Linked DNA regions of Homo sapiens: region 1 is linked to region 2. The links are contacts of gene promoters, found by promoter capture Hi-C in blood cells and fetal thymus (Javierre and others, 2016). All regions are on one chromosome and are shown on one strand. Each heading gives the region's core, a stretch centred on a gene start or on the middle of the fragment in contact. The rest is flanking DNA. Distances are from core to core; before and after follow the strand shown.

Evidence for each region. Contacts are between HindIII fragments. The CHiCAGO score rates a contact against its expected background, and 5 or more counts as called.
Region 1: a contact is called between a fragment that was not itself captured here and the fragment with the promoter of PARM1 in region 2, in 1 of 17 cell types (M0 macrophages). The highest score is 5.4, in M0 macrophages.

What each region holds. Positions count from the first base shown.
Region 1 is chr4:75,176,854-75,183,184 of GRCh38, reverse strand. It overlaps LOC100506253 (a long non-coding RNA gene), which reads left to right and starts at 1,889. Exons shown (of 3, transcript XR_109812.5): 1 at 1,889-2,381; 2 at 2,720-2,774; 3 at 4,295-6,331. RefSeq lists an enhancer at 1,638-2,138. The HindIII fragment of the contact is 6,697 bases long and covers 400-6,331 here.
Region 2 is chr4:74,931,793-74,938,029 of GRCh38, reverse strand. PARM1 (prostate androgen-regulated mucin-like protein 1) reads right to left here and starts at 4,914. Exons shown (of 4, transcript NM_015393.4): 1 at 4,660-4,914. The coding sequence starts at 4,702. RefSeq lists an enhancer at 3,981-4,030 and silencers at 4,141-4,190, 4,771-5,080. The HindIII fragment of the contact is 7,366 bases long and covers 1-5,845 here.

The DNA of each region.
Region 1 (6,331 bases), core at 2,499-4,998, 250 kb before region 2:
CCTTAAGTTTATGTGAATCCTTATGTTTTAGGTGAGTCTCTTGAAGACAGCAGATACTTGGTTGGTGTATTCTTATTCATTCTGCCATTCTGTATCTTTTAAGTGGAACATTTAGGACATTTACATTCAACATTAGTATTGGGATGTGAGGTACTATTCTATTCATCATGCTATTTGTTGCCTGAATATCTTGTGTTTTTTTCTTTAATTTTTATTGTTTTTTTTTTGTAGGTTCTGTGAGATTTACACTTTGAGGAGGTTCTATTTTGGTGTATTTTGAGAATTTGTTTCAAGATTTAGAGCTCCTTTGATCAGTTCTTGTAGTTCTAGCTTGTAGTGGTTAATTCTCTCAGCATTTGTTTATCTAAATAAGAGTATATTTTCTTCATAAATGAAGCTTAGTTTCACTGCATACAGAATTCTTGTATGCAGCTGATAATTGTTCTGTTTAGGAGGCTGAAGATAGGGACTCAATCCCTTTTAGCTTGTAAGGTTTCTGCTGAGAAATCTGCTGCTAACCTGATAGGTTTTCCTTTATAGGTTATCTAATTAGTGCTTTTAACTCATGGCTGTTAAGATTCTTTCCTTTGTCTTGACTTTAGATAACCTGATGACTATGCCTAGGTGATGATATTTTTGTGATAAATTTCCCAGATTTTCTTTGAGCTTCTTGTACTTGGATGTCTGGATCTCTAACAAGGTCATGGAAGTTTTCCTTGATTATTCCCTCAAATATGTTTTCCAAACTTTTACATTTCTCTTTTTCCATGGGAACACCCAGTATTCTCAGGTTTGGTCATTTAACATAACCCCAAACTTCTTGGAGGCTTTGTTCATTTTTTAATTTTTTTTGTTTTTTTTCTTTGTTGGATTAGGTTAATTTAAAAACCTTGTCTTTGAGCTCTGACATTCTTTCTTCTGCTTGTTTGATTCTATTGCTGAGAGTTTCCAGTGCATTTTACATTTCTCTAAGTGTGTCCTTTACTTCTAGATGTTGTGATTGCTTTTTATTTATGCTATCTATTACACTGATGATTTTTCCCTTCATATCTTGTATTACTGTTTTGATTTCATTAAGTTGGACTTCACCTTTCTCTGATTCCTCCTTGATTAGCTTAATAATTGACCGTCTGAATTCTTTTTCTGGCAATTCAGGGATTTCATCTTGGTTTGGATCTATTGCTGGTGATCTTTTGGGGGTGTTAAAGAACCTTGTTTTGTCATATTACCAGAATTGTTTTTCTGGTTACTTCTCATTTGGGTAGGCTGTGTCAGAGGAAATATTTGGGGCTCAAGGGATGCTGTTCAGATTCTTCTGTCCCATGGGGTGCTCTTTTGATGTAGTGCTCTCCTCCTTTCCCTGGGGATGTGGCTTCCTGAGAGCCAAACTGGAATGATTGTTATTTCTCTTCTGGATCTAGCCACCCAGCAGAGTTGCCAGGCTCTGGCCTGGTACTAGGATTGTCTACACAGAGTCCTGTGATGTGAACCATCTTTAAGTCTCACAGCTGTAGACACCAGCACCTGCTCTGGTGGAGGTGGCAGAGGAGTGAAACAGAGTCTGTGAGCGTTCTTAGTTGTAGTTTTGTTTATTGCAGTAGTTTTGTGTTGGTTGGCCTCCAGTCAGGAGGTGGCACTTTCAAGAGGGCATTAGCTGAGGTAGTAGAGGGAGCATCAGGTGGTAGGTGGGGCCCTAGAGCTCCCAAGAGGTTAAGTCCTTTTTCTTGGGCTATCAGGGCAGGTAGATAAAGACCATCAGGTGGGGGCAGGGTTAAGCATGTCTAATTTCAGACTCTCCTTGGGCGGGTCTTACTGCAGTTACTGCGGGGGAGGGGGGGTGTGGTTCTCAGGCCAGTGGAATTCTGCCCCCGGGGGATTATGGCTGCCTCTGCTGTGTCATGCAGGCCACCAGGGAAATGGGTGAAAGCTGGCAGTTATAGGCCTCACTCAGCCCAAAAGGCTGGTTTCACTTTCACTGTGCTCCCTCAACAGCACCAAGTTTATTTCCAGGCAGTGGGTGAGCAGGGCTGAAAAGCTGCCCCAGGCTACCAGCCTCCCAGCTGAGAAAGCAAGCAGGGCTTTTAGATTTCACCTCTCCCCACCTACCATGGCTTCTGTGCTGTGATTGCACTCCTGATTCAACCCCTCCCCTGATTTCTGTCGGGGAAACTTTGCATTCGGTCGAAATTGTTACAAAGTTCAGCTGGAAGTTTCCTTCCCTGTGTGGTTTCTTCCCGGTTCCTCTGGCAGCCCTCCCCAAGGACTTCTGTAAGACAAAGTCGGAAGTTACTTCCTTGGGGACCGAGAGCCCACAGGGGTCTTCCTACTGCTTCTTCTACCCCTGTATTTCACTCAGCTCTCTAAATTTGTCTCAGCTCCAGGTAAGATCAAATCCTTTACCCGTGATCTGGAACTTCAGGTTCCCCAGTGAGAGTGTGTGTTTGGGGGCAGACAATCCCCCTTTCACACATTGGGCACTCACAGTTTTTTGGCTGTCTCCAGGCGCCCTGCAGGAGCAATCTGCTTCCTTCAAAGAGTCTGTGGGTTATCTCAGCTTTCCTGTTCTTCTTGATTTTTGAATGTGTAAGGGTAACTCTAGAATTTTTCTCATCTTTGAATAGAGGACATGAAATTTTCTCTCCATGGTCTAGGGAGAGTTATGGCTCCAGGAAAGAAGAGAAAATGTATTATATTTCCCACTTCTCTTCTATCTTTGCAGGAAGGCAGGGATTTCAACCTGGGCAACAAGTCCACAGAACATGAGATTTCTGAAGGTGAGTCACATAGAACATTGACTGGGTTGAACTCAGGTCTGGACAACAATTAAGTACTGTAAATCTCTTGGAGGATATAGGCTTATTTCTTAAGTTATTATTACATATAAATGATAATATATGTAAAAAATATATAAATAATGATAATATATATATTTATATGTAAATGATAAAATAAAATATATATTTTATAAAATAAAAGATATATCTTTGATAAAATAAAATAAATGTAAATGATAAAATATATTTTTCAACCTAAAATTGCAATATATATAGTTGACCCTTGAGCAACACAGGTTTGAACTTCATAGGTCCACTTATAAGTGGATTCTTTTTCCATAAACGCATTGAAAAATTTTTTGGAGATTTTGACAATTAAAAAAAACAAACAAACTGCAAAGCATAGCAATATAGAAAAAATCAAGAAAAAGTATGTCATAAATGCATAAAATATATGTAGACAGTAGTCTATTTTATCACTTACTACCATAATATACACTAATCTATCATTAAAAGTTAACATTTATCAAAACTTACATACACAAACACAGACTGTATATGGTGCCATTTGTACTTGAGAGAAATGTAAACAAATAAAAAGATGTAGTGTTAAATCATAACTTCATAAAATTAACTGTAGTGCATACTATACTACTGTAATAGTTTTATAGCCACCTCTTGTTGCTATTGTGGTGAGCTCAAGTGTTACAAGTATCCACTTAAAATGCCACCTAATGCTAATCATCTCTTTGTAAGCAGTTTGTCTCTCCAGTAAATTGTGTATCACAGTAAAAAGCTGTCTCTCAAGTTTCTTGTTTATTTTTCATCATGTTTAGTACAATATAATACACCTTGAATAACACCATGGGACTCACATGAAGTGTGACTAGTGATGCTGGAAGTGCTTCCAAGAAGCAGAGAAAAGTTATGACATTACAAGCAAAAGCTCAGTTGCTTGATAAGTCCCATAGCTTGAGGATGTCAGGTGCAGTTGCCCACCATTTCAGATAGGCAATTCATCTTGTAAACAGACGACATAAACTTACAGTATTGATAAATACAATCCACTACTGCAAATTTATTTTCACATCCTTATGATTTTCTTAATAATGTTTTGTTTTTCCTATCTTACTTTATTGTAAAAATACAGTAGGTAGTATATATAACATACAAAATATATGTTAATCAACTGTTTATATTATCGGTAAGCCTTCCAGTCAACAGTAATCTATTAGTAGTTAAGTTTTGGGGGAGTCAAAATTATATACACATTTTTGACTGCACAGGGGGTCAGTGACCCTAACCTCTATGTTGTTCAAGAGCCAACTGTATATTTCTTTCTGTTATCTCTCTATAGTGAAATGCCTTTCAGTGGAGAAAATAAATAAGTATGTATATACACTGGGAAACTTATCTATACACATAGAGAGAAGTGTTTTACTAATGAGATATTCAATACTACCCAAGTTAACTCTCGTATACTACTTCTTGTAATTTTTCCTTGCTTTTTCTACTTCCAGGTGTGTGGGATACATCATGGTTACATAAAAATCCTTTCACTATAGTTCCTGCTTCCCTATCTTCAAAATGATTCCCTGAAGACTTCCGCCATGACGGTCTAAAGCCTAACCTCTGAACTGTGGATGGAAAATTGAACTCCTTGATGTGATCTCTGCACATCATGCAACCCTAAACCTAAATATATTCTCTGTGTGGGAGCCCCATTATTTTTAGTCTAATACATTTTAAGTCATCTTAAAAAATTATATTTTGTTTTCTTTTATATGGTCGATTTTACCTTGTTTTCTTTGACTATTACTTGTTGTCTTGTATGAGATTCTACTGGTCTCAAGGCTTAAACCTCACAATCTTCAGGGTCTGATGGATTTCTCTCTATTTTCTAAGTTCCCTGGGATATGTTTGATGAGTTTTTGTGGCAGAGAAGCAGAGAAAGGAGAAAGGTGATGTCTATACTACTTCCTTTTTCTCCCCAGCCACAAATGCCAGAGTCTATAAAGAGACCCTGAGAAGCAAGCTCTGTGCAGAGTCACTTCTAAGAAATACCAGGATAAAATGTAGGTGAGAGACATTTGTGTGAAAAAAGGGATGAGAGAGAGGAGGAAGGATTGAGAAAATTTTCAAGGCAGAAAGGGACCTATATCTTCTAATTTGGCAAAATGGGAGAGGTAGGTAGGAGATGGGAATGCTCTCTTATCTATCTCGCCTTTTGGATGGAGATTAATAACACAACCCAGGAGAAAGTGATCCTTAGGAAGCCCAAATGACTGAAAACAGCCCTCGAGTATACCAATTGGACAAGTTGGGGTGAAGGAGACCTAGTTATTGTAATACATAGGTAGAGATTGTGGTTGTGAGACTGTTGGGTGATTAACTCATAGATGTTCCAAAGTCATCTGTCAGCTAAAATAGCTGTCATTAGGAATGCTTGAAAGGTTTCAAAGAATACTTCAGTAGCAATGAGCATACCTAGGACCTAGATCTGGGCTTCTAAATCTCATTCTCCACTAAAAGAATCTGGGTCTCCTTGCACAAGTGGCTGATTCCAGGTCCAGGGCGTGAAAAGTACAAAGTGAACTTGGAACATTTCTGTGCCACAAAGCAAGAAAGTGATCAAAGAATAAAGGGGACATGTTGCAAAGGACCCAGGAGCTTGCTTAAAGAGGCTTCCATTACCTACATTTGAGATAATCTGAGTATCATCATGACTATTGATGATAATGGAATATAACCCAGATAACAAAATAAAAATCTGTAAGTCCATACTAATGTAAGTAAATAAATGAGGAAATAAATGATGGAGAAGTGAACTCTTTTCCTTATAGTAGAATCCCAAAGAATAAAGATAGAGAAAATGATGGACTTGGAAAATCACCATTTGGCAGTCCCTATAGTAATAATTGTTTCAGGTAAAAATAAACAGATTCGAAAATCAGAGTATGATGAAAACCAGGATACTTAATATACATTGTCTCAAAGTATATCTCTACAACATATTTATTAATTTCAAAGAAAAAACTTTCTTTACATTGGATAAACCTGATAGAAATCACCTCGACTATATGATCAAAGTTCACATCACCAATAATGGGACACATAGACATCATGTGCTTCCTGAGAAGGACATAACAACATTTCTATGATATTTCTGTCAAAAATGCATAATCTGAATCTAATCATGAAGGGGTAATCAGACTAACCCAAATCAAAGGTTTGTCTACACAATAACTAGTTTGAATTATTCAAATACTGAGATCATGAAATAAAAGAAAGAATGAACTGTTTCAGATTAAAGAAGAACAAACAGACATGACAACCAAATGTAACTTGTGATTCTGGATTTATCCCTGGACAATGTAAAGCACATTAGTGGGGCAACTGGCAAAATCTGCATATGTAATTTGTCTACAAATTGTCCACAAATTGGATAATAGTTTTGGTATTGGTAATGGTAATGATATTATATCAGTGTTAATTGTCTGATTTTGGTAATTGCACTGTGATTATTGAAGAGAATATCATGATTTTTAGAAACTACA
Region 2 (6,237 bases), core at 3,665-6,164:
TGACCTTTAAGGTTTAGCTGAGTTGAGTTTTTGAAACACACCAGTTTGCAAAAGTTTCTATGGAAGAAATAAAGTCCTTGGTGAGACTTTACATCTATTTGTTACTGAGCATTTTTTGGACTCTTGCACTAAATCTGAGTTGGCACATTATTAACCTTTTCAAATTAGGCATTTAGTAGGCTCAGAATATTTTCTTCATTTGCACATTGGTTTGCTGGAACAGCTGGCACTGCACTGGAATATTAGTTGAGATCTTTGATTTACATAGTTCAAGTACAAACACATAAACTCTGCTTTTGGAGAGGATGACCTAATTAGTGCAGCATATAGTACACTTCATTAATAAAAATAATAGCAACAACAACAGCTAACACTTATTGAGCATTTGCTATGTCTCCAGCACTGTATACCTATAGGTATATTCAGGTATTGAACACTTTCAATAACTCCAATTTTTTATTCTCCAAATTTTGTAGATAAAAAAATGCAGAGTGGTTAATGTACTTGTCCTCAATCACATAATTAGTAAGTAGTAAAACTTAGATTTTTACCTAGGCAATCTAGCTGCAGAATCTACGCACTTAACATCTTGAAACACTGCCTCTGTAAATGCATCAGATAACAACAGAGAGTGTTCATCCACCTTCTCAGGTCAGTTTTCATGTGAAGGAAATGTCACATCTTTGACTGTGACCACAGATTTCAGGGGAATAGGAGTTTCTCAGGCTAAGGAATGCAAGTGACTCTTCACAACCACCCCCAACAAATCATGATCAGCCTTCCTGTTCCTTTACGTGTGTGCACAATTTTGTGTATTTTAATATATGTGTGATAAGGCTACTAAGCTGACATATATCAAGTACAGAGTCATAAATGTGCAGGGTGAAGTAAGTCTTCCTTCAAGGATAAGGACATTTTAGATGTTAGTTACCTGGAGAAGAGGTATCTACCAGATCCAGAACACAAATAGGATCCCTAGCTGAGTGGCAGACTGGGAATCTAGCTCTCTGGTGATCTACATCTTAATCACCAAGGGACCAATACGTCTGCGCAGGGTGCCTGGGTAATGGGTGGAAGGTCCTGAGAGGAGACAGGGGCAAACAGAGCAGACCCAGGGCGGTAGAAATAGGACCATGAGGTTTGTGCCTCTCTTACCTAGTGTCCTTCCTTTTTGTCCTTCTTGAGTATTCAGAAAATGCCTTTGAAAGTTCTAACATATCTCATACTTCACTGAGGGAGTTTTTAAATAAATAGGGCCATAAAAAACTTGAACGTGCCCGGGCGCGGTGGCTCACACCTGTAATCCTAGCACTTTGGGAGTCCGAGGCTGGTGGATCACGAGGTCAGGAGATCGAGACCATCCTAGCTAACACGGTGAAACCCCGTCTCTACTAAAAATACAAAAAAAATTAGACGGGTGTGGTGGCGGGCGCCTGTAGTCCCAGTTACTCGGGAGGCTGAGGCAGGAGAATGGCGTGAACCCGGGAGGCGGAGCTTGCAGTGAGCTGAGATCGCGCCACTGCACTCCAGCCTGGGAGACAGAGAGAGACTCCATCTCAAAAAAAAAACAAAAAAACAAACAAAAAAAAAACACTTGAATGTAACAACCATGGTGGCAAGAACAAAGGAAGAGAATCCCGAGGGGAGCAGGAGAGGGATAAATGTGGAAGCTACCAGGGGCCTGCCATTCTCGTTCCCTTCTTGGTTTTGGGGATAAAGGTTGGAGGCTCTGGTTTGTATTTTAATCTGGAATCAGTACTCCAATATGCCTTATCCTGGCATAAGAAGTGTTTGAAAATGGTTTATAGAATAGACATCTAGTTTTCTACCATAATCAACCTTGAGAGAACTGAAGACCATCTAAGATTTCTCTCTCCTTTTAGAAATAGAAGTGAGGCTGGGCACAGTGGCTCACATCTGTCATCCCAGTACTTTGGATGACCAAGGTGGGAGGATCACTTACGTTCAGGAGTTCAAGACCAACCTGGGCAGCATAGGAATACCCCCCATATCTACAAAAAATAAAAAAATTTAGCTGCCTATGGTGGTGTGAACCTGTAGTCCCAGCTACTCAGGAGGTTGAGATGAGAGGATGGGGAGGCCGAGGTTGCAGTGGAACTGGAATCGCGCCATTGCACTCCAGTCTAGGTGACAGAGCTAGACCCTTTGTCTAAAAATATATAAATATATTTATATATACCCGAGTGAATACATGTAGAGATCTACCCTTGTTGGCTTGTTGACAACGCACACATATTTGCAAGTGTCCATTGTATGTGCTGGAGGAAATACTATGTATACTTTGAGAGGATTTGTTGAGCCAAAAAACAGGCCCCTGCCTAATGCTGTTCCTGGCTCAAGAAAGTATCACCTTAAGAATTTTACAGAAATATTGTTGAAGCCTATGGCTAGAGGAGGAAAATGAGAAGGAAACAGAAAAGACACAAGGCCTGGTGAAACTAACTAGAGATTTGCTAGGGGAGTTCTGGGATAAGCCCCCAAAACACATGTGTGTGCACTTTCACTTCAAGAGCCCTCATCCCTTTCTTCTTTACCAACACGTCTATTTTTTTCTTTAAAAATGATATTTTACATTCTGAAAACACCTTAAAATTAAGGTGCAAAGAATCTCATGAGGTATTTATGCCAATTTTTATATTATTTTTTCGGACGATTTATTGCAAAGTAGCTCTAACAACAAACTGACGTCTTAAAGAGATTCCTTCAAAGGCACAAACTTCAGGGGGAATGCAGTGTCCATTAGCTTCATCATTTTCAGCTTGGGATATGCATATCGAAGCATAACTAGGGAAATGAGGCAGTATGTCTTCCTGAGTCTCGAGCCTCACAGCTGGAAGGCTGTGACCATCTGGGCTCTGATCCTAATTAGTGCGTGGGGGTAGGAGTGGTGCTCAGCCGGTCCCTGGCCCACCAGTCTCCTCGCTCTAGCGGTGGGTCAAGGGTGATATTCCTCCCGGAATAGCGGAGCTAAACTGTAACGCTGAATAAAAGAAAAAAGAAAAAAAAAAAAAAGAAAAAAGAGCTTCTTGGGGTGGGGGTGGGGAAGCTACAATACACTGTTTGTTAGGGTTAATCCCGGTTTTGACAACTGCCAGAGCTGTTTAAAAAAGGAAATGATTAAATAAACAAGACAAGCCACTAAATCAAATTTGCAAACGAACCTCTCTACTGACTCACTCAAGGGTTTCTGAACCTCAAGAAAAGATTTTTGAGTGAGGAGAAGTAAAGGTACCTTCCGTGTCATTACGTAAGCATCTCCTGCTTTGAGGATTACAGGAATTACCACCCGCAGCCAGCCGGGAGCTCCGCTGCCTATTGCACCTGCCGGACCTAGGCTCTCTCATCTCAGCCCGAGGCTGGGCAGCCAAAGCCGCCTGCGAGTATTCGGGAACTGTCCGCGGACGCGTCTCCAAACCGTGCCGAGATACCAGCGAGAAAGAGGTTTTCTCAGACGGACGTTCACTAAGTAGAGAAAATACGCTATAGTTTCAAGTTGGGAAACTTTTCCTTATAACTGCATTACCCACTGTGAGCTGCCTGAAAACCGCTAGCTTCTTTTCAAGGGATTGCGACGACTCGTGTCCACAACTGTAGGAACCCGACGAACTCAGAGGGAGGATATACAGACTAAAGCACGAGTAGAATCGGTTTGCGCTATGTGACTTTGGGTCACATTTAAACTGAAAATGCCAGTGGCCGCGCAGTCGGGCTACTTTTCCCAGCAGCACCATATCCACAGCCAGTTGTCCCTTTTCGGGAGACGTTTTCTGGAAAAAATAGGTACCTGAACTCTAGATTCAAAGCGTCTTTCTGAATCTCTCCCCGGTCCCCGCCAAGCCGAGCTCAGTCATCTGGCTCCCCTCTTCCCCATCCCCGCTGCCAGAGGTCGTCGCCGTCTGTGGTCCCGAAACCCGAGAGTGGCTCCTACGAAGCCTTTCAGAGGTGGTGCAGGGGGAGGGGAGAGGATGCTAGTTTAGCCAAGTTAATAGTTTCTTCTATGGGATACGTTTTTGGGGAGTTCTGGGGCAGAAGGTAGCCTTGCTACCCCCAGTGACGATTGCGAGCCTGACCAAGGCCGGGCCGCTGCTGTTAGTGCCACATCATCCTAAGCATAACTAGGAAGGGACGCCGGAGATCAGAGACCGCCAAGACTCGAGAAAGCAAACCAGCCCCGCCAGGCGCGCAGCCGCTGCTGAAGCCTTCCCAGATGCGAACCTCCCACCCCCACTTCCCCGGCTTTTTCATCCCTTCCAGGGCCCAACGGCAACAAGAAGTCTGGTCCCGTACTTTGGCAGAGTGCGCTCCGAAACCCTGGTGAAGAAAGAGAAGCCTTGAGGCGCAGTCCGTGTTGCCCACTCTGGGTTCGAACACGCAGCTAAGACAGCCACCTGTTCTACAAAGCTGGAGTTTGTGCGGGCGCGGGCTGCGGCAGGAAGGACCCCATCGTCCCCTCCCTCAGTACGGTTCGGGACCGCCAAAGGTGCACGTCACCCCAAATCTAAGTGCGCACACACCTGCGCACTCACCCGGAGGCGCGCGGCGACTCACTGCCGGATCTCCTAGCTTCAGCCCCGACCACGCGCTAGCTACTGGGGCCCACCCCGCGACCTGCCCTTCCGGGAGGATGGCGCCAATTACCTGCAGTTAAGATGCAAAGAGCGAAGAGAGTCTTGTAGACCATGGTAGCCTGGTATTTGGTGCCCAGCCCGGGGCGGGCGGCAAGGAGTTTGCGGACTGACAGAGCGCACTGGGCGCTGGTAGCGACTCCTCTGCCGGGTGGGCTGCGGTGGGAGCCGGGAGGCGCGAACAGCTCCAGTGGAGGGCGCGAGGCAAACGAGGCGAACGCAGCGCAGCTCCGTCAGCTGCGTGCCCTCCGGTGCTCCGCGCTCTTCTGCTCCATCCCAGCCGCCCGAGCCCGGGGCCGCCTCCGCCTCCGCCGCCGCCGCCGCGCCTGCCGCTGCCAAACCCCTCCCACCCGGGCCCCGCGGCGATGACTGGGCCACCCCCTGGCCTTCCTTCTCTCAGCCCTCAGGTCCCGAGAGCCCCGGCCCAGAGCGGCCTCTGCTGGACAGTCAAGACACGAGACCCTGGGTTCAGCAAATGTTTGCAGCGCCTTGCACTGTGCTGGGAACTAGGGATGCAAAGAAATGTGAGCACATCTCTGCCCTTAGGAATCTAGCTCAGCTTTTCCTACATGAGCTTACAGCCTTTAAAAAGGTGACCTTATGCCATTTTAGGAGTTCCCTCGGAGAACCGGCACATGTTCCAAGAATGAGGACCTTCTTCATTTGTCAAAACACTTCTGCGTGTACATCATTAAACCCTCATCCACATTAAACCCGGCTGAGCTTCCTGGGGCCCGAACCAGGATGTCTGCCGCTGCATTCAGCTTCTTACTAGAAGAAAATACTGTCGGGGGGATAACTAAGCCAGACACCCTACTAGGCGTTGTTTCATGAATCCTTCTAAGAATTATTATTATTCCATTTTACAGGTGAGAAAATGAAGGCACAGAGAAGACAATGTTCTCAAGGTCGCATAACTGGTAAGAATAGTTTGTGCACTAGGCCCATAATAAAGGCTGACGTTTCCTGAGTGATTGCTATGTGCTAGGCACTGGACAACGTGCTGTTCAGGAATCAACCAAGTCATTTAGTTCTCACAACAATCCTTGGAGATTATATCCTCGTTTTCAGGGGAGAAAGTAGAAGCACAGAGAAGTTTAACTTGCCCGAGTTCACACAACTCGCAAGTAATGATAAGATGCCTGCCCAGGCACCCCGCTCAGCCTCTGTACTCTACTCCCTCTCAAGAGCCCAAAGCTTCTCCAAAGCCTACAGATTAGAACTGACCTTTCATTCAGTTCCCTCCCTGCTCTTGCTACACTTTAGGCTTGCTTAATTCTCACACTTCGATCAAAGCAGATGCCAGGTTCTCTCCCAATTCTGTTATTAATGAACCTATTGGTCCCCTAGTCACTAGAGCTGGGGCACTGCAGGAGTTAACAAGCCTTTGTAAAGAAATGATTTGCGTGGAAGGCAGCTTTCTTTTTTCTGTAATATCTTCTTCATATGCCATGGGCTCTGTTCTCACTTCTTTCTCACATACCAGAAGCTGACTCTAGGAGTCCTGAGCACCTTATCTATGGTCAATTCCTCTGCCTGACTCTATCACACTACCACTTGTAGATTTTGCTCACACTTCCACAACCAGATT